Regions from separate parts of the Homo sapiens genome. Here region 2 is linked to region 1. Evidence: promoter capture Hi-C in human tissues and cell types (Jung and others, 2019). All regions are on one chromosome and are shown on one strand. Each heading gives the region's core, a stretch centred on a gene start or on the middle of the fragment in contact. The rest is flanking DNA. Distances are from core to core; before and after follow the strand shown. Region 1 holds the start of AAGAB (alpha and gamma adaptin binding protein). Region 2 overlaps MAP2K5 (mitogen-activated protein kinase kinase 5).

Region 1 (5,502 bases), core at 1,398-3,897:
CGAGTTGCAATGGAAAGGTCATCTGATCTTAACCCGAACTGGAATTATCTAAGAGCATTTTATATACAGAGATAAAATGGATTATTTTACAGAATTAATTTTACCCCCAATAATGCTAATACACTTTACAGAAGTACAATGTTACTATTTGCTAACTACAGGTAATCAGCTACTTCAAGGCAGGGACCATGTTTGCCGATTGGGATCATTAAAGCACACAACAGAGCACCATAGCATTTAGAATAATTAATATTCCTGAGATTGTCTTGAAAAGACTTCCATGTATCGCTAATAGGATTCCTAATGCATGTAAGTCTTTTGGAAAGTTAGTTACATCTTTAAGAATCTTGAGCAAATTCTGGTTTATTCACTAGATGGATATATGTGAGAAACTAATTTTTGATAAATCTGAGGATAAGAACTGTGTATTTAAAAAATTTTTAAAAACAGAAAAAATTGTGTATTAAATGTAATTACAATTATTTCTTTTTAAGAAACTGCAATGGAAAAAAAGACTGGAAAGAAATGTTAGCAGTATTTGTAGTTGGGTAATGAGACTATGGCTATTTTCTTTTCTCTGTATGCTAAATTTTACTTAGTATGCACTAGTTTTACAATGAAACAATTAAAGAAAAAAGAGGAAGGAAGGAAGAAAAGAAGGAAGAAAGGAGGGAAGGGAGAAAATAGGAAGGAGCACTGCTTAAAGGTAAGAAAATGGCCTAATTAGACCAGTTAGTAACCACTTAGTTAAATGCTATAATTAAGCTTTTACCCTAGCAAGGAACTTTCTAAGTGATCACAAATGATAACTAAGTCATATAATATCTGCACTGAAGGGACATCTTACCTAATTCTGTCATTTGACAGGTGTAGCAAAGAAATTATAATTATACAATGCTTTACAGTTTACAAAGTGTGTTCAAAATGTCACATCATCTGTCCTTCAAATACTCCTGAAATAGGCTCATATGCCCCATTTTAAGGATCAGGAAATTGAGGGTTACAGAGATAGTAATGTGCCTTAATAATAATGTCTATGATTTATCAAATGTTTACTATGTGCCAGACTCGGGGATAAGCACAATCTTGCGAAAATTATCCCTATTTTATAGATAGAAGGTGAAGGGGCCGGGCGCGGTGGTGACTCACACCTGTAATCCCAGCACTTTGGGTGGCAAAGGCAGGCAGATCACTTGAGCCCGGGAGTTCCAGACCAGCCTGGGCAACATGGCCAAACCCCGTATGACGGGGGGGGGGGGGGGCAATTAGCCGGGCGTGGTGGCACACACCTGTAGTCCCAGATACTTGGGAGGCTGAGGTAGGGGGATGGCTTGAGCCCAGGAGGCAGAGGTTGCAGTGAGCCGAGATAACGCCACTGCACTACAGCCTGGGCAGCAGAGTGAGACCCTATCTCAAAACAAAAATAAAAAAAAGGAGAGAAAAGAGAAAGTGAAGGGTAGCCAGGCACAGTGGCTCACGCCTGTAATCTCAGCACTTAGGGCGGCCAAGACAGGAGGATCACTTGAAACCACGAGTTGGAGACCAGCCTGAGCAACATAGCAAGACTCTGGCTCTACAAAAAATAAAAAAATTAGCCAGGGTTCGTGGTGTGAGCCTGCAGTCCCAGTTGCTCGGGAGACTGAGGCAGGAGGATCGCTTGAGCCCAGGAGTTCGAGGCTGAAGTGAGCTATGATCGCATCACTGCACTCCAGCCCGGGCGACAGAGCAAGTTCCCGTCTCTTTAAAAAAAAAAAAAGAAAAGAAGGAAGGAATGTAGGTAGGTTAGGTGACTTGCTCGAGATCATACAGCTAAGTCACTGCTCTGATTCTAAGCCATACACTTAAAACAGAAGTCTTGAGTTACCTATAATTCAACTTCACAGAGCCCTTTAGTAGAGTTGGCTTATTATCCAGTCCCATGTTCTCTCTTTTAAGAGTTAGTAAGTCTGACAGCCATTATGAGGGTCTACAAGCAAAAGCACTAGCCCAATCATACCCAAAAACTCATGTTGGCGGAGAGCCCATGCCTCAGATGAAAGGCGTGAATAACTAGAGTGGAGCGGACAAAGCTAACAAGTCTTATAATGTACACATTAAGAAGCAGAATAAACTTCAGAGTAAATACGCAGAATAAACTTCAGAATTCAGAGTAAACACTCTCTCCCGGAGCAGCAAGGATAACAACATCACGATATCAACAATTCCAGCACCTTACACTCCTGTAACCTAGCGCAATTTCCGGAGAGCCTTCAGGTTCATCTCAACGGATCCTCGCAAAAACCTGTGGCCTGGGCTGAGCAGAGCGGGAAATCAGTCTCACTTTACACAGGAAGCCGAAAGGAACGCCGAAGAAGGCCGAGTGGGCAGAAAAGCACGAGATTAAGAGATAGGGGCAGCCACCTGGGGAGACTGGGCGCCTCCACTGACTGGAGGAAGAACGCAGGGCCCGCTGCGGGGACAAGGCCCAGAGAGGCCGTGGTGCTGGGTCCGTCGCCCGCTGAGGCTCAGGGGCCTTGGAGGTCGGCCCAGGCGCCTATCTACTCACGTTGGACCAGCTGGTCTCCTGAGAAGACGGAGGAGCAGCTGGTGACTAACGCACAGGGTACGCCAGCAGCCATAGCTGCGCTCGCGAGCCGGTTCCGTCAGGCAGCCGCTTCCGCCTTGGGCTGCACCACGGCCGCCGGCGCGAGGGGGAGACAGGCCGGAGAGGGCGTTCTCGGAATGACCAGGCTGGCCTGACCCCGCCCCTAGACCCCCTTCCGCTCCCAGCGTGGAACAGGCCAGGTCGCGCGCGGTGTTGCCATGGGGACGAGCGGCTCCGGCTGAAGGTTTCCGTGCTTGGAAACCGCGCCTCCGCGGAGGTAGCCGTTCCCTGACCTAGCCATGGCACAGAACACTGAAAACCACGACCCTGTCGGATCCATCTTAATCCAGGTGGGAAACGGGCTTCCCCCGGCCCTGCCCTGCCCAGCCGCGCCACTTCCGAGCGAGGTCCCGCGCGCCGATTCACCGACGCTCACCCATTTGGTGCGCCGCCCCTAGACTCCCTCCAACTCGCGAGAGGCTCCCAAAAATGCCCACCCAGACCTTCCCCCACGGCCCAGCACACTCCCGGTGACTTACCCTGTAGGTTACGCCCCAGAAGCAGGACTTTCTGCCTCTGGGAAAACTCTAAAACCGTTCACCCGGAACCTTTACTTCAGAAAAATTAACCTCACGCTGAGGCATCATTTTTAAATGTTATATTCTGAAAAATTTGAACCCATGACGTCGGGAGTGGAGGAGAGACAAATCGGACACTCTAGGAGGTGATAAGAAATTTGGAGACAAATTGAAATATGTGAATTGCTTTTCTTAAACACCCCAGTTTTTTAGATCTAAATGTTCCTCATTGGAGAACACACAGAAAAATCAAGATAACTTGGAATGAAAAAATGTGACATTTAAAAACTTAGTGAAAGACCTTTTTAATTTGAGAGGGGAAATGTCAAGAAAGTCTTGTCCAATACAGCTCAATTTGTAATAGTTGCACTCAGATGTTTCTGAAATGATCATGGCATTTTGTTTTCACATTTATGTGAGGTAACTTTAAGATATTTCCACATATATCATCGGTTTTAACTATCACATATATAATAGCTGCATTTGACTAAGTCTTGAAGTCATTTGTCTAAGGTCACTCTGTCAGGACTGTCACTCAGTTGGTCTGAAGTGGGTCTTACTCGTCAAAGGGATCTAATTTTTCTGGCAGAATTTTGATCTCTTACCTCCCATCTAGGAGAGACTTCCCTAAATGTACCTTTTCCCAAATACAAGCCCCTGAACTCACCAATTTCATAGACTTCCCCATTAAGAATCATACCTAATCTTACCTGATCTTTTCTCACCCTCACTTTCACCATCACGCAGCAATGAGTTTAGCCAAACTGCGAAGTCTGAGGGAACGGTCCACAAAAAACTGCCCTAACTTCAACACTCACTACCTGCAAGTTCAGGGGTCCCCAGAACCACCTCACTTCAGACCAGCTGGGTACAAACTTAGGGGCCCCATCACCACCCTCACATTCAATGATTCACTAGAACTATTCGCAGAGCTCAGGGAAGTGCTGTGCTCACATCTCCAATTTTATTATAGTGAAGGCATACAAATTAATCAGCCAAGGAAAGAGATGAATAGGACAGAGTCCAGGAGGGGTACAAACATAGAGCTTTTGGTCATCTTATCCCTGTGGAGTCATTGACGTCATTACCTGCATTACTTCCTCCCAGCCATGATATGTGACAATATGCATAGAATATTGCAACTAGAGAAGCTTATCTGAGGCTTTGATGTCCAGAGTTTTTACTGGGGCTCAATCTCACACTGCCCTTGTGGTTGACCATTAATCTCCAGCCCCTCCTGAATACTTTTAGTTTCCCGCTGCTCCAGAGGTCTGAGCTGATACAGCGTGGATCAAAACACCCATTATAAATCATGTTGATAGACTGTCTGGTGGCCAAAGCCCACAGACAAAGACACTTCTATCAGGCAGGACATCCCAGGCGCCTAGAGATCACCTCCCAGTAGCCAGGAGCGAAGACTGGACCCCTCTTTGGGTAAGGTTAATTCTTTGCTGCACATACCCACTCTTTTTATAGATTCCAAATAATTAGAACAATAATGGAGACTCTTACCTAGGATACAACATTATAGTAATAGATAACTGTTGACACTGACTTGTGAGATGGGTCAGAAGAGCTAATAGTCATATCCATGTTGATCTGCACCCCTACTTATTTAAAAGGATTCCTGTGGACATATCAAGTAAAGGGCTGTGTAGAGGAAGAGAGCCTACCTGTTAACCAGATTATTAAGACTGATTCCTGTATAGTATAAAATTCTATTCTCTACATGTAGAATATGTATAGTGAGGAAATTTGGAAGACTTTCCCTACTTTCTCAGTGAATCCTGAGAATGTGTGAGTATGTAGCACCACCCAACTGTGCCAACGTGGATTCCACTTCTATTTGGGGCTATGATTTATTTCCCTCAGACAGGCTACCAATAATTAGTGTGTCTAGTGGAAAGCACTTGATAGGGAGTCAGAATACTGAGATCTGACCATGACTTTGACAGTCTCACAAGTAGTGACTTTGAGTTAGGCACTCATCTCTCTGGACCTCACTTTCCTCTTCCATAGGACATATAGTTTGGATTAGGTTCACTTCTGACTTTAAATTGTCCCAATTTCCCCAGGCTACATCATTTACTGTAAAAGTAGACTTCCTTTGTTGTTAGCCTAGGCAATCAAATTGTTTCTGGCAAGTCAGTGACTGAGTGAGTGTGTGTGTGCAATAGACTGTAAAGCAGAGGTACTTTAAATTTCTACTTGCTTCACCCTAATATGGTCAGTTACGTCTGTGTATCAGTCAGATATATTAAACAGCTTTTTAGACCAGTGGTTCTCAAAGGTGTTGTAAGTATTATTTTTTAGCTCCAGTTTACAGAAGACACTTAGGTA
Region 2 (5,502 bases), core at 1,382-3,881, 520 kb after region 1:
ATAGCAAATCCAGTAAAAGAAACAAAGGTCAACACAAGAATAATTTCACAGCTCTTTGTTAATTACAAGACCATTTGTGTGTTACTTAAATAATCATTAATTTCTCATTTACACTTTCCCTACCTTCTCTCCTACCCTGTGGCTATCATTGTCCTTTTTTCACCTCCCCCTCTCTCAGCTCTCATGTTTCTCACCATTGTAAAATATGTGTGGCTTTAAATTTGGCATCTTTACCTAAATGTGTGGAATAAGGTAAAGACAGTCTTTTTAATTGGGTGAGGCCTTATTCTCATTGTATTCATCTTTATACTCATCCTTCACATGGGTGGGTGGGGAATATAAAGAAAGAGAAGGAACTGTTGTGACTTTTGGTGACATGTTTTTCCTCCATCACAGGATTCGCCCGTCCTTCCAGTTGGAGAGTTCTCGGAGCCATTTGTACATTTCATCACTCAGTGGTGAGCCCGTTTACAAACATGCCATGCCCTCAATGTAAATGATACATGCCATTAACTCGGCAGCTCCGTGAGACCTTATGGCTCTCCCTGCATCCTTTTGGAGACAGGAGGGACTTCGGGGCCTTGGGCAGATGGGGCAGCAAAGCTGAAGAAATTGTTTAAATTATGTAAACGTTATTTACACAAAGGGTCATAAGCATACTTCAGAGCCTTTTTCCTGATTTAATAAACTGCTGAAAGTCATGATACTTCTTTAAGCACAAATACTGTTGCCATCCTTTTTTAAAAAAAGAAATACACAATTTTATAGCCCCTACTGAACGGACGTACGAAGCTTATTTTTATTAATGTAACCTCAAGTTACCCATAAAACTGTCTTGTCACTTAGTGGAAGCAGCATAGTTTATTAATTCATCGGATTTTCAGTAAATAACTTTTATCTTTGGTTGTATTTTAAATACAATACTGGGGTACCATTTCAATGAATTTTGACATTTGGAAGACTATGAAAACAGTTCAGCCCACTTTAACCCTTAAAGAACTGAGAGGAGCCACAGGGGCCCTCAGAGCCTCTAGGCAATTCCTTGTCATTTTATATCTGAAGAAACAAGCATTTTACTGCCAAGGGTTCTTTGCCAGCCTTCTGCCTTTTTCCTCCTAGCAGAACGCAGATGTCTTTTATTACCCCTTTCACCATCATTCCCCTCTTCCCTCGTCCTGCAGGACTCATGTGGCCTTGGGAGGCCCAGGTATTCCTCTGCCCTCTCCCTCACTCCAGCACAGAGAATTACCTAGGAGAGAGGAGGAATTCAGGAACATAGGAATCATTGTCCTCAAAGCAGGAGACAAAACCAACCGCAACTCCTTCTTAACTACGTTGGTCTTCTTTCCCTCCTTCACCAAAGTCCAGAGTCATGTCCACTGGTGGAAAATGAATGGGCAGACCCTACCAGAAGAAACCCTTGGTTCTGTGGTGTGGCAAAGTAATGTTATCAGGATTCTTGCTAACCAAAATCGTTGTGTGCCATCCCCTTCCCCTCCCACTATGATCTGTCCGATGATTATGCTAAAGGGAAACCAAGAAATATTCCTTAATATAAATGTCAAGCTTTATCACCTTTTTGACTAAGTGTAACATGTTACCTCTTAATAAAAATGTCTCATGCAGTTTATATTCCATAGAAAATATATGTGAGGAAGAAATTTTTCTCCCCAATTAAAAAAATTTTATTAACACTGTTTCTATTTATTTAAAATACTTATATAATATTGTGTAGCTTTTAAAAACTATTTTTACTCTGAAAACATTTTATTTCCAAAGCATGCCATGTCGGAAAAAAGCATACATGTTGATTAAACACTGGAATCCTGAGCTGTTTTGAAGCTCCTTAATGATGTTAGAACCATTACCCAGAAATGTATATCCCTCTTAATTTCCTTTACATGGAATTCTTAAAACACATGGTAATGTGTACCATGTGTTTTACACATGGTAATGTGTACCATGTGTTTTACACATGGTAATGTGTACCATGTGTTTTACACATGGTAATGCCTCATTTTGAAATGCAAAAATTGAAACACAAACCATGCGATTCCTCTACTGCCTGGAGCGCCTGGTTTGGGCATCACCCTCTCTGCTCCGGAGGAGATGTTGGATTTGTGACAGGATCCCAGTGCTAATCTTATCTCGCTGTGTGGTCTGAGACCAACCTGGGGGTGGGGCTGGTCTGAGCAGCAGGGAGAAAAGTGGATAAGGCTTCACCTCCCTCCTGTCCAAAAAATTAATCAGCTGTTATTTAAAAGTTTTATGGAGACAGAGGGAGGGATAACCTGCATTCAAATTTCCACAGATGTCAAGCCAAAACAGAAATGATAGTGGGTAATAGCCTTGTTTTCCCAAGAGATACAGCTACTTTGGAATGTCAGATTAGGACTGTTACCAACTCCACTGGCGAGACAGCTTGAATTAGTTGCTAATGGATGCAGTGTTTGAGAGGTGCATATGGTTATTTATAGGGAAGGCAAATGTCCTCGATGTCATTAATGGTTCATAACTCCGATTCTTGTTTACCAAATGATCATTAAATCTATTTTTAAAAAAGTATTGTCAGCAAATGCAGAGATTATAAGAAGAGTTTTCTTCTTGCTTGTTAGAAGAGTGCCTTATAAAGAAAAAAGCATCCGTGTGATTTTTCCAAGTGATAGAAGCAGCAATCTCTTTTCATGACTATCCCATGGACACTCTGAGTTTAGAACAAATACAGCCATCAAGTAGGCAGCTGCCCACAGTCACCTCCATCCCATGTGTGAGTGCTTCATCACATAGCTAAGTACATGTTACAGCTACTAATTATATCTATTGCATGGAAGACAAGAAATATTTTGCATGAAGAATGTGATTCTTTAAGCAGCTTAAACAAATTTAGCTGTCCCACAGCGGTTTAATGAATTATCAACTTGCCTTGTTGCCAAAACAAATGCAAGTCAAGATAATCTATAGCAACACACTTCTAATTTTGTAGCATTATCTAGATTCCTGACCTGTTTTATATACTTCTTGTCATTCGGAGTAACAGTGAAAGAATGAGATGTATTCTCATTTGACTCTACAGTCATGTTTCTTTCCTTACTGTCTTATCCCAATTACCAAAAAAAAAGGTATATTCTCTAAATATAAGTTTGAAATAAATTGATAATTGAGTCAATAAGAGAATATTGCTGCTTTTTTCACATTCGCTTCAAAAGTAGAATTAGGATACATTTAATTTAAATTCATTCTTTATTTGTGTTGCAAAATATTTTTTAAGTGAAAAAGTAAGAAAAAGCTTTTTGTTTCTTACTCATAATGTCCCCCAGAAATCTGACTAAGTAAAGACCAAAATAAAAGAAAGGGAATATATGCTAATACTTTGGCCAAGAATTGAACATGATGTATTTTGAAAACATTCAAATTCCAGTACAAATAGCCATTGGTAGAAATTATAGCAAAAATATACAAATGACACAGATAACATAAGGGGTTTTTTTCTCTCCACTATAGTATGCGAAAACAGCCAAAAGAAAGGCCAGCACCTGAAGAATTGATGGTAAGTGAATGTTTTTAGTTACATTAGAATTCTCAGTTATATATTTATGTTTAACATTCTGTTTAAAAGTCCAGAATGGAATTTGAAACAGCCATAGGCTCTGAAAAGGCAACATTATTTACTTCATTTGGGTAGATGTTTTTGAAGCTCATATCCTCAGATAATAGTGTTTACTTTTTAAAAACCCACCACCTTTTTGAAAGTTAATGCAGAGCTCTTTTCATTTGCCTCATCAAGGGTCACAAACTTAATGTAGGTTACTCTTTATCCTCATTTGCTATTAAACCTTTTAGAATTCAGAGGATTGGTAACAGAAGATCATCAGTGCAATAAGTTTTTAGTGCAATTCTGCAGAAAATTTCTGAATATGGCATGGAGTCCTCTTAGATTCATGTAGAATGAAATTAAACTGGCTGCAAAAGATCAAGTTAATGTGAATCTTTGGTCTTTCCTCAGAAAGAGACAGCTACAAGGCTGCGAGTGCTGTGTTCTCAGCTCCAAGGCAGCTTTCTTTGATTGCAAATGACAGTTTTTAGTCAAGCAGGGAGAGGAACAGAGATGCTCCCTAACAATTCCCAAATGGTCATTTGTTTAGTGCAGATTGTTGATTTGACAATGCACAAGCTGTTAGAATAACGTTAGGATCGAGCATTAGTAAATAATAATTATAGTCTATTCTTTCTAATGTTTTGCATACCATTCCCTGCCTTTAGATTACTACAGTCAGAGCAAATTCCTACCAATTTTCTTTCACCTTCTTTAAACAATATGCATTTTACAGATACCAGTTTAGAGGTTTTCGTCCTTTGTATTCCAACCTAATAAACAGTTTCAGTGCCCCAACTTCTTTATAATATGGATTTCATCCTTGAATATAAAATAACAGTACGTTTCCTTTTTGCATCATGAATGCTTTCCAGGAAGGTACTTTCCTCCTTCATGTTCCCTGGAGCAAAATCTCAGTTTTCAGGGTAGTTTCAAGTTAAAGATCACCCCTAAAAACCTCTGCAATTTATAACTCTGCAGGTTTCATGTCTAGAATAAACTGGTCTCTTTTTTTGGTCTCTGTGATGGTTGGGAAATTCTTGCAGTTAGTCACATTTGAGAAAACTTGGAACAGGTTCTAGAGATGGAGACCCATTTACCTTGTGCATTATTATGCTATGGCTGGATAGCTCAGCTGTTAAAACAAAGGAATAGGGTTTCATAAAACAGATATTTGTTTGTAAATGCATGTTTCAATGCTGCAATGAGTTGGCCACTTATAAATAAAACATCTGCAGATCACACATACGCCCATAAATGTATATGGATGTATATGTTGGTAAGGAACACCACTCCAGGGTGGCACATCATAAAGACAAGGCTAAAGGGTGAGTACTTTCAGTGCCTTGAAAGCAAGTGATGTGTGTGTATGTGTGTGTGTGTGTGTGTGTGTGTGTGTGTGTGTGAGAGAACATAGGTATTTAGATATATCTCTTTACAACTCTATACCCTGTTGTGTGCTGTCCCACATTTTAAATTAATAAATATCAATAAATCAATAAAATACAATGAAAAATGTTGTCACAGGAAGCACCATTCCATACTTAATTTAACATTATTTCTAGTACTGCTCACTGTTTGATTTTAAATGAATGCATTCCCAGAGGTATAGCAGTGGTGAGGCACCACTGCTTTGGCAGGGCTCAGTGAGGAGGCAGGGAACAATAGACTATATGTGAAGCTGCTGTGGTCAGAGAGTGAGCCCTGCCTGGACTTTGGGCAAAAGATTGGGCCCAATAGGGGATGGGAAAGAAAGTGGGTTTTCCTTTATCTTAAGGAACTTAAGCCACATCCTAGGGGCCCAATCTAAAGGAACCAGCCTCTTTATTCCTTCCAGCATATTAATGGCTTTAATTTTTCCTTTTCTCTTCCCACCTACAACCTATTTGATGGTGCTCCCATCTGGAAGC

Evidence for each region. Contacts are between HindIII fragments. The study calls those that stand out against the background at their distance.
Region 2: a contact is called between a fragment that was not itself captured here and the fragment with the promoter of AAGAB in region 1, in 1 of the 25 tissues and cell types used here (IMR-90 fibroblasts).

What each region holds. Positions count from the first base shown.
Region 1 is chr15:67,252,014-67,257,515 of GRCh38, forward strand. AAGAB (alpha and gamma adaptin binding protein) reads right to left here and starts at 2,648. Exons shown (of 10, transcript NM_024666.5): 1 at 2,546-2,648. The coding sequence starts at 2,618. It overlaps IQCH (IQ motif containing H), which reads left to right and starts at 2,773. Exons shown (of 21, transcript NM_001031715.3): 1 at 2,773-2,934. The coding sequence starts at 2,884. RefSeq lists an enhancer at 2,389-2,708. The HindIII fragment of the contact is 6,332 bases long and covers 1-4,980 here.
Region 2 is chr15:67,769,206-67,774,707 of GRCh38, forward strand. MAP2K5 (mitogen-activated protein kinase kinase 5) reads left to right here. Exons shown (of 22, transcript NM_145160.3): 20 at 397-458; 21 at 3,502-3,547. Among named protein-coding and RNA genes, the nearest start is that of SKOR1, 54 kb to the right of the region's middle. RefSeq lists an enhancer at 2,302-2,577. The HindIII fragment of the contact is 6,173 bases long and covers 1-5,502 here.